Linked DNA regions of Homo sapiens: all the other regions are linked to region 1. The links are contacts of gene promoters, found by promoter capture Hi-C in blood cells and fetal thymus (Javierre and others, 2016). All regions are on one chromosome and are shown on one strand. Each heading gives the region's core, a stretch centred on a gene start or on the middle of the fragment in contact. The rest is flanking DNA. Distances are from core to core; before and after follow the strand shown. Region 1 holds the start of HAS3 (hyaluronan synthase 3). Region 2 overlaps TANGO6 (transport and golgi organization 6 homolog). Region 3 overlaps TANGO6 (transport and golgi organization 6 homolog).

Region 1 (3,332 bases), core at 226-2,725:
CCTCCTGGGCTCAAGCAATTCTCCTGCCTCAGCCTCCCTAGTAGCTGGGACTACAGGCACACTCCACCATGCCTGGCTAATGTTTTTTTTTTTTTTCTTTTCTTTTCTTTTTCTTTTTTTTTTTATTTTTATTTTTTGAGATGGAGTCTCACTCTGTCGCCCAGGCTGGAGTACAGTGGCATAATCTTGGCCCACTGCAACCTCTGTCTCCTGGGTTTAAGCGATTCTTCTGCCTCAACCTTCCCAGTGGCTGGGACTACAGGCACGTGCCACCATGCCTGGCTAATTTTTGTATTTTTTAGTAGAGATAGGGTTTCACCATATTAGCCAGGCTGGTCTCTAACTTCTGACCTCGTGATCCGCCCACCTCGGCCTCCCAGAGTGTTGGGATTACAGGCGTGAGCCTGCACCCGGCCCTGGCTAATTTTTTAATTTTAATTTTTGTAGAGACGGGGGAAGTCTCGCTTTGTTGCCCAGGCTGGTCTTGAACTCCTGGCCTCAAGCGATCCTCCATCTTCAGCCTCCCAAAGTGCTGGGACTACAGGTGTGAGCCACTGTGCCTGGCCAATAATGTAAGATGGGATTGTGTGGAGTAGGTGTGCCTGGGGTCTTTGCTTGCCTGCGGGGACTGAGGTGTGAGGTCTGTGGCCCAGACTGAGCAATGGTGGGCAGGCAAGTCCCTGAGCCCCTAAAACTTGCGAGAGGAGAAGTTTATAGACTGCAGCTCAGGTGCCTATAAATTTGTTGCAGCTTGGGAAGAAGTGATAGAAATTATATCAGGTGTATTTGGAAAACAGGTAAACTCTGTTTTTTGGTTTTTTTTTTTTTTTTTTTTTTTTTTTTTTTTGGAGACGGAGTCTCGCTCTGCTGCCCAAGCTGGAGTGCAGTGGTGCGATTTCAGCTCACTGCAACCTCCACCTGCGGGGTTCAAGCGATTCTCCTGCCTCAGCCTCCCGAGTAGCTGGGATTACGGGCATGGTGCCCGTAACGCCGAAAGTGCTGAGATTACAGGCTTGAGCCACGGCGCCCGGCCACTCATTTTTTAAAAACTAGTTATTAATTATAATTTCTCTTCAAGTTTTCCTGAGATGTAAAAACTCATCGCCTTCAGCTGGTTCTAAACTTCTTGTCTCTGCTAACAACTCTCCCCCCTCCTCGATCTCACCCCACCCCAGTGCACCCCAACTCACTTCATCTCACTTTACTCGAGTCTAGCACTATCTTTTAGGGACCTGAAAACTACTGTCGATAAGGTCAGTTGGGAATTTAGGAGGTCATGGATGTCGGAAATAAAGGTGTGAAAAAGAAGAGGAGGAATTGTTTTGGCTTTAAGACACCGGAACCTCCAAGGTTCCTACAAAACCGTTTGCAGCTTTTGCAAACCGCCTTAAAGTCATCAGCGCCCCACTGCGGAATTCAAAGCTAAGCTGTCACAATTGTTAACACCTTCTTTGACCAGCCTTTTTACATTTGACAATTCTCTTCAGCGCCTCTTTCCTGCCAGCAGGAAGGTTTTGCTGCCTTGGCTTTCGGGAGCCCCCTAGACAGCGAACTGCCCCTTCGCGTGCAGAAGTCGGGGAAGAGTGCTCTCAGCTCGCCTTCCTTGCAGGGTGAGTAGGTTTTGCGGGTTAGAGAGCGGGGCGTGGGGGCGGGGAGGGAGAGTAACAATTTTGGAAGTCCCTGCGTGGTATCTGGAAAGTTAACGACGCTTCAGGTTCTAGGTTGAGCCCAATGACCGTCTTGCCTTGGCAGCTGGTCCCAGGGCGATTGCAGAGCCGCGTGGCCTTCGGCCCCACTCGGGGGACCCAGCTTCGGAGAGGGCGCAGGGGCTGCGAGTCTTGCGAGCCGGAGCCGCGTCCACCCGGGACTAGGCGTCCCCGCCGAGCGCTGGCTTGTGGCGCTCCCTGGGACCGCGCGGGGTCGGGGGTGCGCCCGCGGGGGCCCTCCCACTCTGGTCAACTTTCCCGGCCCCAGGGCCGGGGGAGGCGCCTCTCCTGGCGGGCACGCGCCGGGTACTTAAGGGCGGCTCGGCTGGGCAGGCGGCAGTCGGAGCGCGCGGCGGCGCGGAGCGGAGCGGGAGGAGGGGCATGGAGCCGCCGCGGGCCTGCTGAGCTCCGGAGCGCGGCAGCCGGCGGCACGGTGAGCGCGGGCCGGCCGGCACCCAGGAGGGGAGGGCCGCGCGGGGCTGCGCCGAGGCCGGGGCGCGCCGGGTGGCAGGGGTGCCTCTCGCCGAGCCCCCCGCACCCGGCCAGCTCCCAGCCCTGCGGGCGCCGCGTCCGGCGCGGGGAGGCGGGTTGGGGGCGGCGGCAGCCCCGGGCTTCCCGGCGGCCGTTCCTGCAGCCCCCTCCCCACTGACCCCTCCTCCCTTTCTTCCTGCATCCTCTCCTCTTCCAGCCTCGCCTCCCTCCTCCCCGGCGGCTCCTGTTTTGTGAATGAATTAGGAGGCGGACGCCGGTGCGGGGCTCCAGGCTGGCTGGGGTACCCCTCCCCCGCACCTTCTACGACCTCCCGGGGGTTTGCACCTGTCCGGGCACCAAGGTACCAGGCGCCCACGTTCCTGCGGGTTAGCCGGGCCGCGGCAGCACGTGTCCGGGGGAGTGGGCTCCCCTCCCCTGGCCGGCCTGGAGGGGCCCGGAGGGCGGCCGGGCACAAGAGGAGGAGCCCCGTTGGGCGCACAAGTTTCCATGCCGCTGCGTGTGGCCCTGCCGCGGGGCGCACCTGTCAGCGGGAGAGACGCTGCACACCAGCAGCCCCTCAAAGTTTCGGAGGCTTGATGGAGAAGCGTGCGTCCTTGACTGGGGGTTCTCCTTCCGTAGTCCTGGGAGCCGGACTTGAGAGCGCCCCCAACCTTGTGCCCTTGAAAGCCGAGTGCGCGTTAGTTTGCCTGGGCTGGGCTCCCGTGGATGAGCGAAGGGCATGAGGAGGCGGCGGTCCAGGCTGTAGGATCACCCCACAGCCTCTGCCGGCTTGGGGTGACACAGCCCCCCGCCCCAGGTCTGGGCAGGAGAACCTCGACCACAGCCTGCACCAGCGCCTGATTGCACGTGGGGTATCTGGCTGAGGGACATTTTGGGGGCCTCTATTTGGGGGTGGGGGTAGTAACCTGGGTAATGCCTCTAATTCCTGCGGGGGAGGGGTCCCGCCCAGGGAAGGAGAGGGCCGGCTACACCGGGGATGCGCCTTTGTCTACAGGCACACTTTGCCAAGGTAGCTGGGGTACCAGGAAGAGCAGGGCCTGGTCCGACTGGGATCCCTTGGGTTTTCCGTTCCTTCCCGGTTGGGTCGTGGGAAAGCGGCACGTGGGTGTGGCCGGCGCCGCCTTTGCCAAGAGG
Region 2 (3,332 bases), core at 211-2,710, 170 kb before region 1:
TGGTTCCAGATATTCTTGGAAAACTTGGAACATGAAGACACTTTTGTATATCTATCTGCAATTCAGGGTAAGTCAGTCCTGGTTAAAGGACTTTAAGTATGTGGACCAGAGACTGTATCATGTTTATTTGCACAAAATCTCTAAAGTCCTAGGGCCAGGAGACTACTGGTCATTTTGTCCGTCTTCCTGCCTCCTAGCTAGGACACTTTAAGTCATAATAATAATATTCCTGAAGGGTTTCCAAAGAGTCCCTATAGAGTTTCAGTGTCTCATAATGATGAGGAAGTTTTTATTAATGTTTACATATTCTGTAGATTAAATCGTATTTCCTCTAATTCAAGGAGGTAAAGAATGACTCACACATGAACTCTTATCACATTAACCTTTTATGTTAGTCGGCTACTGTCTTTTTTTTTTTTTTTTTTGAGACAGAGTCTCGCTCTGTCACCCAGGCTGGAGTGCGGTGGTGTGATCTCAGCTCACTGCAACCTCTGCCTCCCGGGTTCAAGTGATTCTCCTGCCTCAGCCTCCCAAGTAGCTGGGATTACAGGTGCCCGCCACCACGCCCAGCTAATTTTTTATATTTTTAGTAGAGACAAGGTTTCACCATGTTAGTCAGGCTGGACTCGAACTCCTGACCTCCAGTGATCCACCCACCTTGGCCTTCCAAAGTGCTGGGATTACAGGCGTGAGCCACCACGCCCAGCCTCAACTACTGTCTATATGCACCTTTGCTCTCTCGTTAAGCTAAAAGAACTCAGGGTATTAAATATTTTCTTATCAAAAAATTTTTTGCAGTAACTTTATTTCTCTTTTTATGGTTCTTTGTTGTTCTCCACATCCCCTTTAACTTGTGGGCTCCAAATCTAGAGAGGATGTAGAGAATAAGGCACCCTTCCCAAAAGGTCCAGAAGCAGACATGGTGAGGTCAGAGTTAACTCAGTTTCCCTTGGCTCCATCAGCGAGGTACAGTCAACAGACCACCTGGGTTGGCCATCCCATTACCATGCGTTGGCAAATTACTTAATCCCTGTGGGCTTCAATTTTTTGTTATCTGTGAAAAGGGGACTAAATAGGAATGTGAAATGGTACTGCCACTTTGGAAACCAGTCTGGCAGTTCCTCGAAAAGATAAACATAGAGTTACTACTTGGCCCAGCAATTCCACTCCCAGGAATATACCCGATAAATGAAAACATATGTCTGCACAAAACCTTGTGTGTGAATGTTCACAGCAGTATTATTCACAATAACCAAGAGGTGGAAATAGCTCAAACAACCATCAGTTGATGAATGGATAAACTAAATGTGGTATATATATGCAATGGAATATTATTGGCTATAAAAATGAAGGACTGATACATGCCACAATATGGACGAACCTTGAAAACATGGTAAGTGAAAGAAACTGGCCACAAAATACTATATTTTATATGATTCCAGTTACATGAAATATCCAGAATAGGCAGTTTTTTAGAGACAGAAAATAGATTAGTGCTTTCCTAGGGCTGGGGTAAAGGAGAGATAGTTGAGGGTGATAGGTAAAGGATACAAGACTTCTTTTTGGGGTGATGAAAATGTTCCCAGATTCTTGCACAGCTCTGTGAGTATGCTAGGAAACCATTGAGTTATGCACTTTTTTTTTAAGATGGAGTCTCACTCTGTCGCCCAGGCTGGAGTGCAGTGGCACAATCTTGGCTCACTGCAACTTCCGCCTCCCGGGTTCAAGCGATTCTTGTGTCTCAGCCTCCTGAGTACAGGCATCAGCCACCACGCCCAGCCGAGTTACGAACTTTAAATGGGTGAGTTGTATGGTATGTGAGTTATAGCTCAATAAAACTATTATCAAAAAAATACAATAAAAAAAATTTTTTTTTTTTGAGACGGAGTTTCACTCTTGTTGCCCAGACTGGAGTGCAATGGCACAATCTCAGCTCACTGCAACCTCCGCCTCCCGGGTTCAAGCGATTCTCCTGCCTCAGCCTCCCGAGTAGCTGGGATTACAGGCATGTGCCACCACACCTGGCTAATTTTGTATTTTTAGTAGAGACGGGGGTTTCTCCATGTTGGTCAGGCTGGTCTCGAACTCCTGACCTTGGGTGATCCACCCGCCTCGGCCTCCCAAAGTCCTAAGATGATAGGCGTGAGCCACCGCACCTGGCCAAAATAAAATTTAATTAAAGGGGAGAGGGCTAAAATTGTCAGAGCATAAGGAAATATGATGACTAAATGTAATGTGATAGATGGGATTCTGAAATAGAAAAACAACATTAGGACCGGGAGCAGTGGCTCATGCCTGTAATCCCAAGCACTTTGGGAGGCCGAAGCAAGCAGATCACTTGAGATCAGGAGTTTGTGACCAGCCTGGCCAACATGGTGAAACCTGATCTCTACAAAAAAACACCAAAAAAAGTTAGCCAGGTGTGGTGGCGGGCACCTGTAATCCCGGCTACTTGGGATGCTGAGACACGAGAATTGCCTGAACCCAGGAGGCCAAGGTTGCAGTGAGCCGAGATTGCACCACTGCACTCCAGCTTGGGCAACAGAGTGAGACTCCGTCTCAGAAAAAAAGAAAAAAAAAGGACATTAGGGGAAAACTAAGGAAATTTGAATAAATTATAAACTTCAGTTGATAATAAAGTGTCAATATTAGTTTACTATTCTATCATAAAATGTTTATTAATAAAAAGGGGGCTTAATATTAGGATTAAATGAGTTAATTCCTTGCAACTGCTTAGCACAGTGTTCAATATGTGTTAGCTATTAATATTTTAGTGTTGTTATCATCATCAGAATCTTCACTATTACGTCTACTGTTGGATGACTAGGTAATAATGTGGTGATCTCTGTAACTTCTCAGATCTGAAGCCTGAGTAGGCCGATTCTGTCAGTTATTGATATTTAACAAACTACTCTGTGGCTCACGCCTATCATCCCAGCACTTTGGGAGGCCGAGGTGGTTGGATCACCTGAAGTCAGGAGTTCAAGACCAGCCTGATCAACATGGTGAAACCCTGTCCCTGCTAAAAATACAAAAATTAGCCAGGCATGGTGGTGTGTGCCTGTAGTCCCGGTTACTTGGGAGGCTGAAGCAGGAGAATTGCTTGAACCCAGGAGATGAGGGTTGCAGTGAGCCGAGATGGCACCACTGCACTCCATCCTGGGCAGCAGAGCAAGACTCCTTCTCAGAAAACAGCAACAACAACAAACTACCCTGACACTCAGTAACCTGAAACACCAATCATTTATTATCACTCACGCATCTGTAGACCCACTGAAGGTTCAGCGGGGCTTGGCTGGGCAGCTGGCCCCTCCCAGCAGGTCTCAGGCCAG
Region 3 (3,332 bases), core at 259-2,758, 150 kb before region 1:
CCAAGGCCCTTATTTATGCCTCTGTACTTCCTTCCTTTTTCCATTGCATTTTCTCACCTTTGTCACAACACCATGGCCTCTGTTCTTTTTTTTTTTTTTTTTTGAGACAGAGTCTCGCTCTATCGCCTAAGCTAGAGTGCAGTGGCGTGATCTCAGCTCACTGCAAGCTCTGCCTTCCCGGTTCACACCATTCTCCTGCCTCAGCCTCCTGAGTAGCTGGGACTACAGGCACCCGCCACCACGCCCAGCTAATTTTTTGTATTTTTAGTAGAGACGAGGTTTCACCGTGTTAGCTAGGATGGTCTCGATCTCCTGACCTTGTGATCCACCCGCCTCGGCCTCCCAAAGTGCTGAGATTACAGGCGTGAGCCACCACACCTGGCCAGCCTCTGCTCTTACGGATGGTAAAATTAAACCATGGAACCATGGATCATGACATTTTCAGTGAAGCAATTAAATACTTCTTAATTTCATGGCTTCTGGGGCTCCTTTAAAGTCCCTCACCTCCTATTCATATAGACTAGCTGTCACAAAGGCAGGATTCATGACCAAGAAGGCAACATGAGATACCTCCAGGTAAAGAGTCAGTTGCTTAAATGTCCACTTTACAAGCTATTAAGGAGGTCTAAGTACCTTCCCTGCAGAACAGCGATTTAAATTTTGCCCTGGAGCCACCCTTTCTCTAGTAAAGTTGGAATTTGAAGGCAAGTTAAGGAGGATGGAGTAGTGAGAGAGCTTGTAAGTAAAACAGCAAGTCCCTCTTCAGACTTCCCCTTAAATACAGCATCCCACACTCTCTAAGTAATCCATGGTTTTTACTGGAGCTTTATTGCAGTATCAGCTAGAGGTGCACCCTGCTTTTGTGTTTCCCTCCCCAACTAAAGAGCAAGCAGCCTATGTCACCCTTCATCTCAAATACAAATTAAAATTCCTAATCTCACCAGATGTGATTAAGATGATACTTGAAGCTGTTCACACACTTAGTAAGCCCAATTATATTTTTTATTAACACTGACATAGTTCCTTTTGTTGGTGAATCATAACTTTACAATTTTTAACTGAATGAAGCATCAATTACCCCCTCTCAGGTCACGTTGAGAACTTGGCAGTGGTGGAAGGTAAACTTAAATGGTGTCTGTACAGTTTGGGCAACACATTTTTAGATTTTTACATTAGGCTTTTGTGCTTCCTGACCTTGTGGTATCTCTCCTGCCCCAGAGGAGGATTGAAGGTTGGGAATGAATTGAGCCTCAGGGAATGAATCACAACCCCTTGAGCTGCCAAAGACCTCATTAGGTCATCTCTCTGTCCACCTGCTGGGACATGATTGCTAAGGTGTTTCTTAGGAGAAAGCTGTTTTAGAATCACTTTTGTACTTTGTGTTCAACTTTTGTTTTCCACTATTGATAACCTTTAAATAGGGACAAAAAGAGAATTGTAAAATATTTTCTTTGGCAATTAGGGTTTTCTTTTTGTTGTTGTTGTTAATGGCTTAAAATGTTCATTCACTCAACAGGTATTTTTTATTATTATTATTATTATTATTATTATTATTATTATTATTTTGTGTGTGTGAGACGGAGTCTTGCTCTGTCTCCCAAGCTGGAGTGCAGTGGCACAATCTTGGCTCACTGCAACCTCTGCCTCCCAGGTTCGAGCGATTCTCCTGCCTCGGCTTCCTGAGTAACTGGGATTACAGGCACGCACCACCACGCCTGGCTAGTTTTTTGTATTTAGCAGAGACAGGGTTTCGCCATGTTGGCCAGGCTGATCTCGAATTCCTGACCTCAGGTGATACACCTGCCTCGGCCTCCCAAAGTGCTGGGATTATAGGCGTGAGCCACTGCACCCGCCTCAACAGATATTTATTGAGCACTGCTATGTTTGAGGGTGCTGTGCAAGGTACAACACTGAGAAAAACAGTCATGTCTTGCCTTCATGGAGTTTACAGTTGGAGAAGAGCAAATGATACAAAATCACACAAATGTAAAACATGGTTTTGACACAGGTGCTCTAAATAAAAGGTACATGGTGTTCTCTCACTAACTCCATCCTCCTTAACTTGCCTTCAGATTCCAACTTTACTAGATAAAGGGTGGCTCCAGGGCAAAATTTAAATAGCCGTTCTGTAGGGAAGATACTTAGACCTCCTTAATAGCTTGTAAAGTAGACATTTAAGCAACTGACTCTACCTGGAGGTATCTCATACTGTCTTCTTGGTCGTGAAACCCGCCTTTGTGACAGCTAGTCTATATGAATAGGAGGAGAAGGACTTGAAATGAGCCCCAGAAACCATGAAATTAAGATGTATTTAATTGCTTCACTAAACATGTTTTAGGGACATTTTCCCTGACAGCAAGGGAACGAGGCAGTAACCCATCAGTGAGGATCTGTGGGTAGTTAGGAATTAACCTAGTAAAGAAGGGAGGAGACCAGGCACAGTGGCTCATGCCTGTAATCCCAGCACTTTCGGAGGCCGAGGTGGGCGGATCACTTGAGGTCAGGAGTTCGAGACCAGCCTGGCCAACATGGTGAAACCTCGTCTCTACTAAAAATACAAAAAAAAAGAAAAGTTAGCTGGGTGTGGTGGTGTGTGCCTGTAATCCCAGCCACTTGGGAGGCTGAGGCAGGAGAATTGCTTCAACCCAGGAAGCAGAGGTTGCAGTGAGCTGAGATCGTGCCACTACACTCCAGCCTGAGCAACAGAGCAAGACTCCATCTCAAAAAAAAAAAAAAAAAAAGGAAGGAGGAAAGAGTGTTGTAGGATGCGAAACAGCAAAGCAGCAGGACTACAGCAGGGAGGAGCAGGAGGCAAGAACTGCATGAACGCCTGTGCCCTCCAGACCCTTAGGATCAGTAAGGAGGGGCATGGGTGAGTGGGTTTGGAGCACCAGGCAACCCACTCTAACCAGATGGCTCTCCTTTTCTCTCTTTCATCAAGCCCTCTCTTAAGATTTCATGGAAAAACAAAGTTCTGCTGCTCAAAAGAAAAAAAAAGTTTTGAGAACTCACTGTCAGGCTATGTACGTGCCTAGCGAGAAAGTTTTATACCACATTTCATGTGTCATGCCACATACACACCCTTCCTCACCTCTTCACCACTGATGGAGAATTCAGTCTCTCCTTAAGCCTACTTTCATAAAATGCAATGAGAATGTTTGGATATCTGTACAAATTTCTGAGCTTGGTTGTCCAACACACAGCCCTTAACCATTATGAAAAACATCCTAATTGCAGATTAAAAAGGTAAAAAACCATATGGCATTATTTTAGGCCAGTGGGTTTTAAGTAATTTTTTAGCGGTGGAATCCATTTTCAAATGAGATCTAACA

What was found. The method cuts DNA at HindIII sites, captures the fragments that hold promoters and counts their contacts. A CHiCAGO score of 5 or more calls a contact.
Region 2: a contact is called between a fragment that was not itself captured here and the fragment with the promoter of HAS3 in region 1, in 2 of 17 cell types (endothelial precursors and megakaryocytes). The highest score is 7.2, in endothelial precursors.
Region 3: a fragment that was not itself captured here is called in contact with the fragment with the promoter of HAS3 in region 1 in 1 of 17 cell types (endothelial precursors); the score reaches 6.0 in endothelial precursors.

The regions. Positions count from the first base shown.
Region 1 is chr16:69,104,178-69,107,509 of GRCh38, forward strand. It overlaps HAS3 (hyaluronan synthase 3), which reads left to right and starts at 1,476. Exons shown (of 4, transcript NM_001199280.2): 1 at 1,476-1,610. RefSeq lists an enhancer at 1,141-1,689 and a silencer at 1,823-2,102. The HindIII fragment of the contact is 7,234 bases long and covers 1-3,332 here.
Region 2 is chr16:68,930,229-68,933,560 of GRCh38, forward strand. TANGO6 (transport and golgi organization 6 homolog) reads left to right here. Exons shown (of 18, transcript NM_024562.2): 14 at 10-67. Among named protein-coding and RNA genes, the nearest start is that of TANGO6, 88 kb to the left of the region's middle. The HindIII fragment of the contact is 4,573 bases long and covers 1-3,332 here.
Region 3 is chr16:68,951,528-68,954,859 of GRCh38, forward strand. The region is part of intron 14 of TANGO6 (transport and golgi organization 6 homolog); the gene reads left to right. Among named protein-coding and RNA genes, the nearest start is that of TANGO6, 110 kb to the left of the region's middle. The HindIII fragment of the contact is 6,801 bases long and covers 1-3,332 here.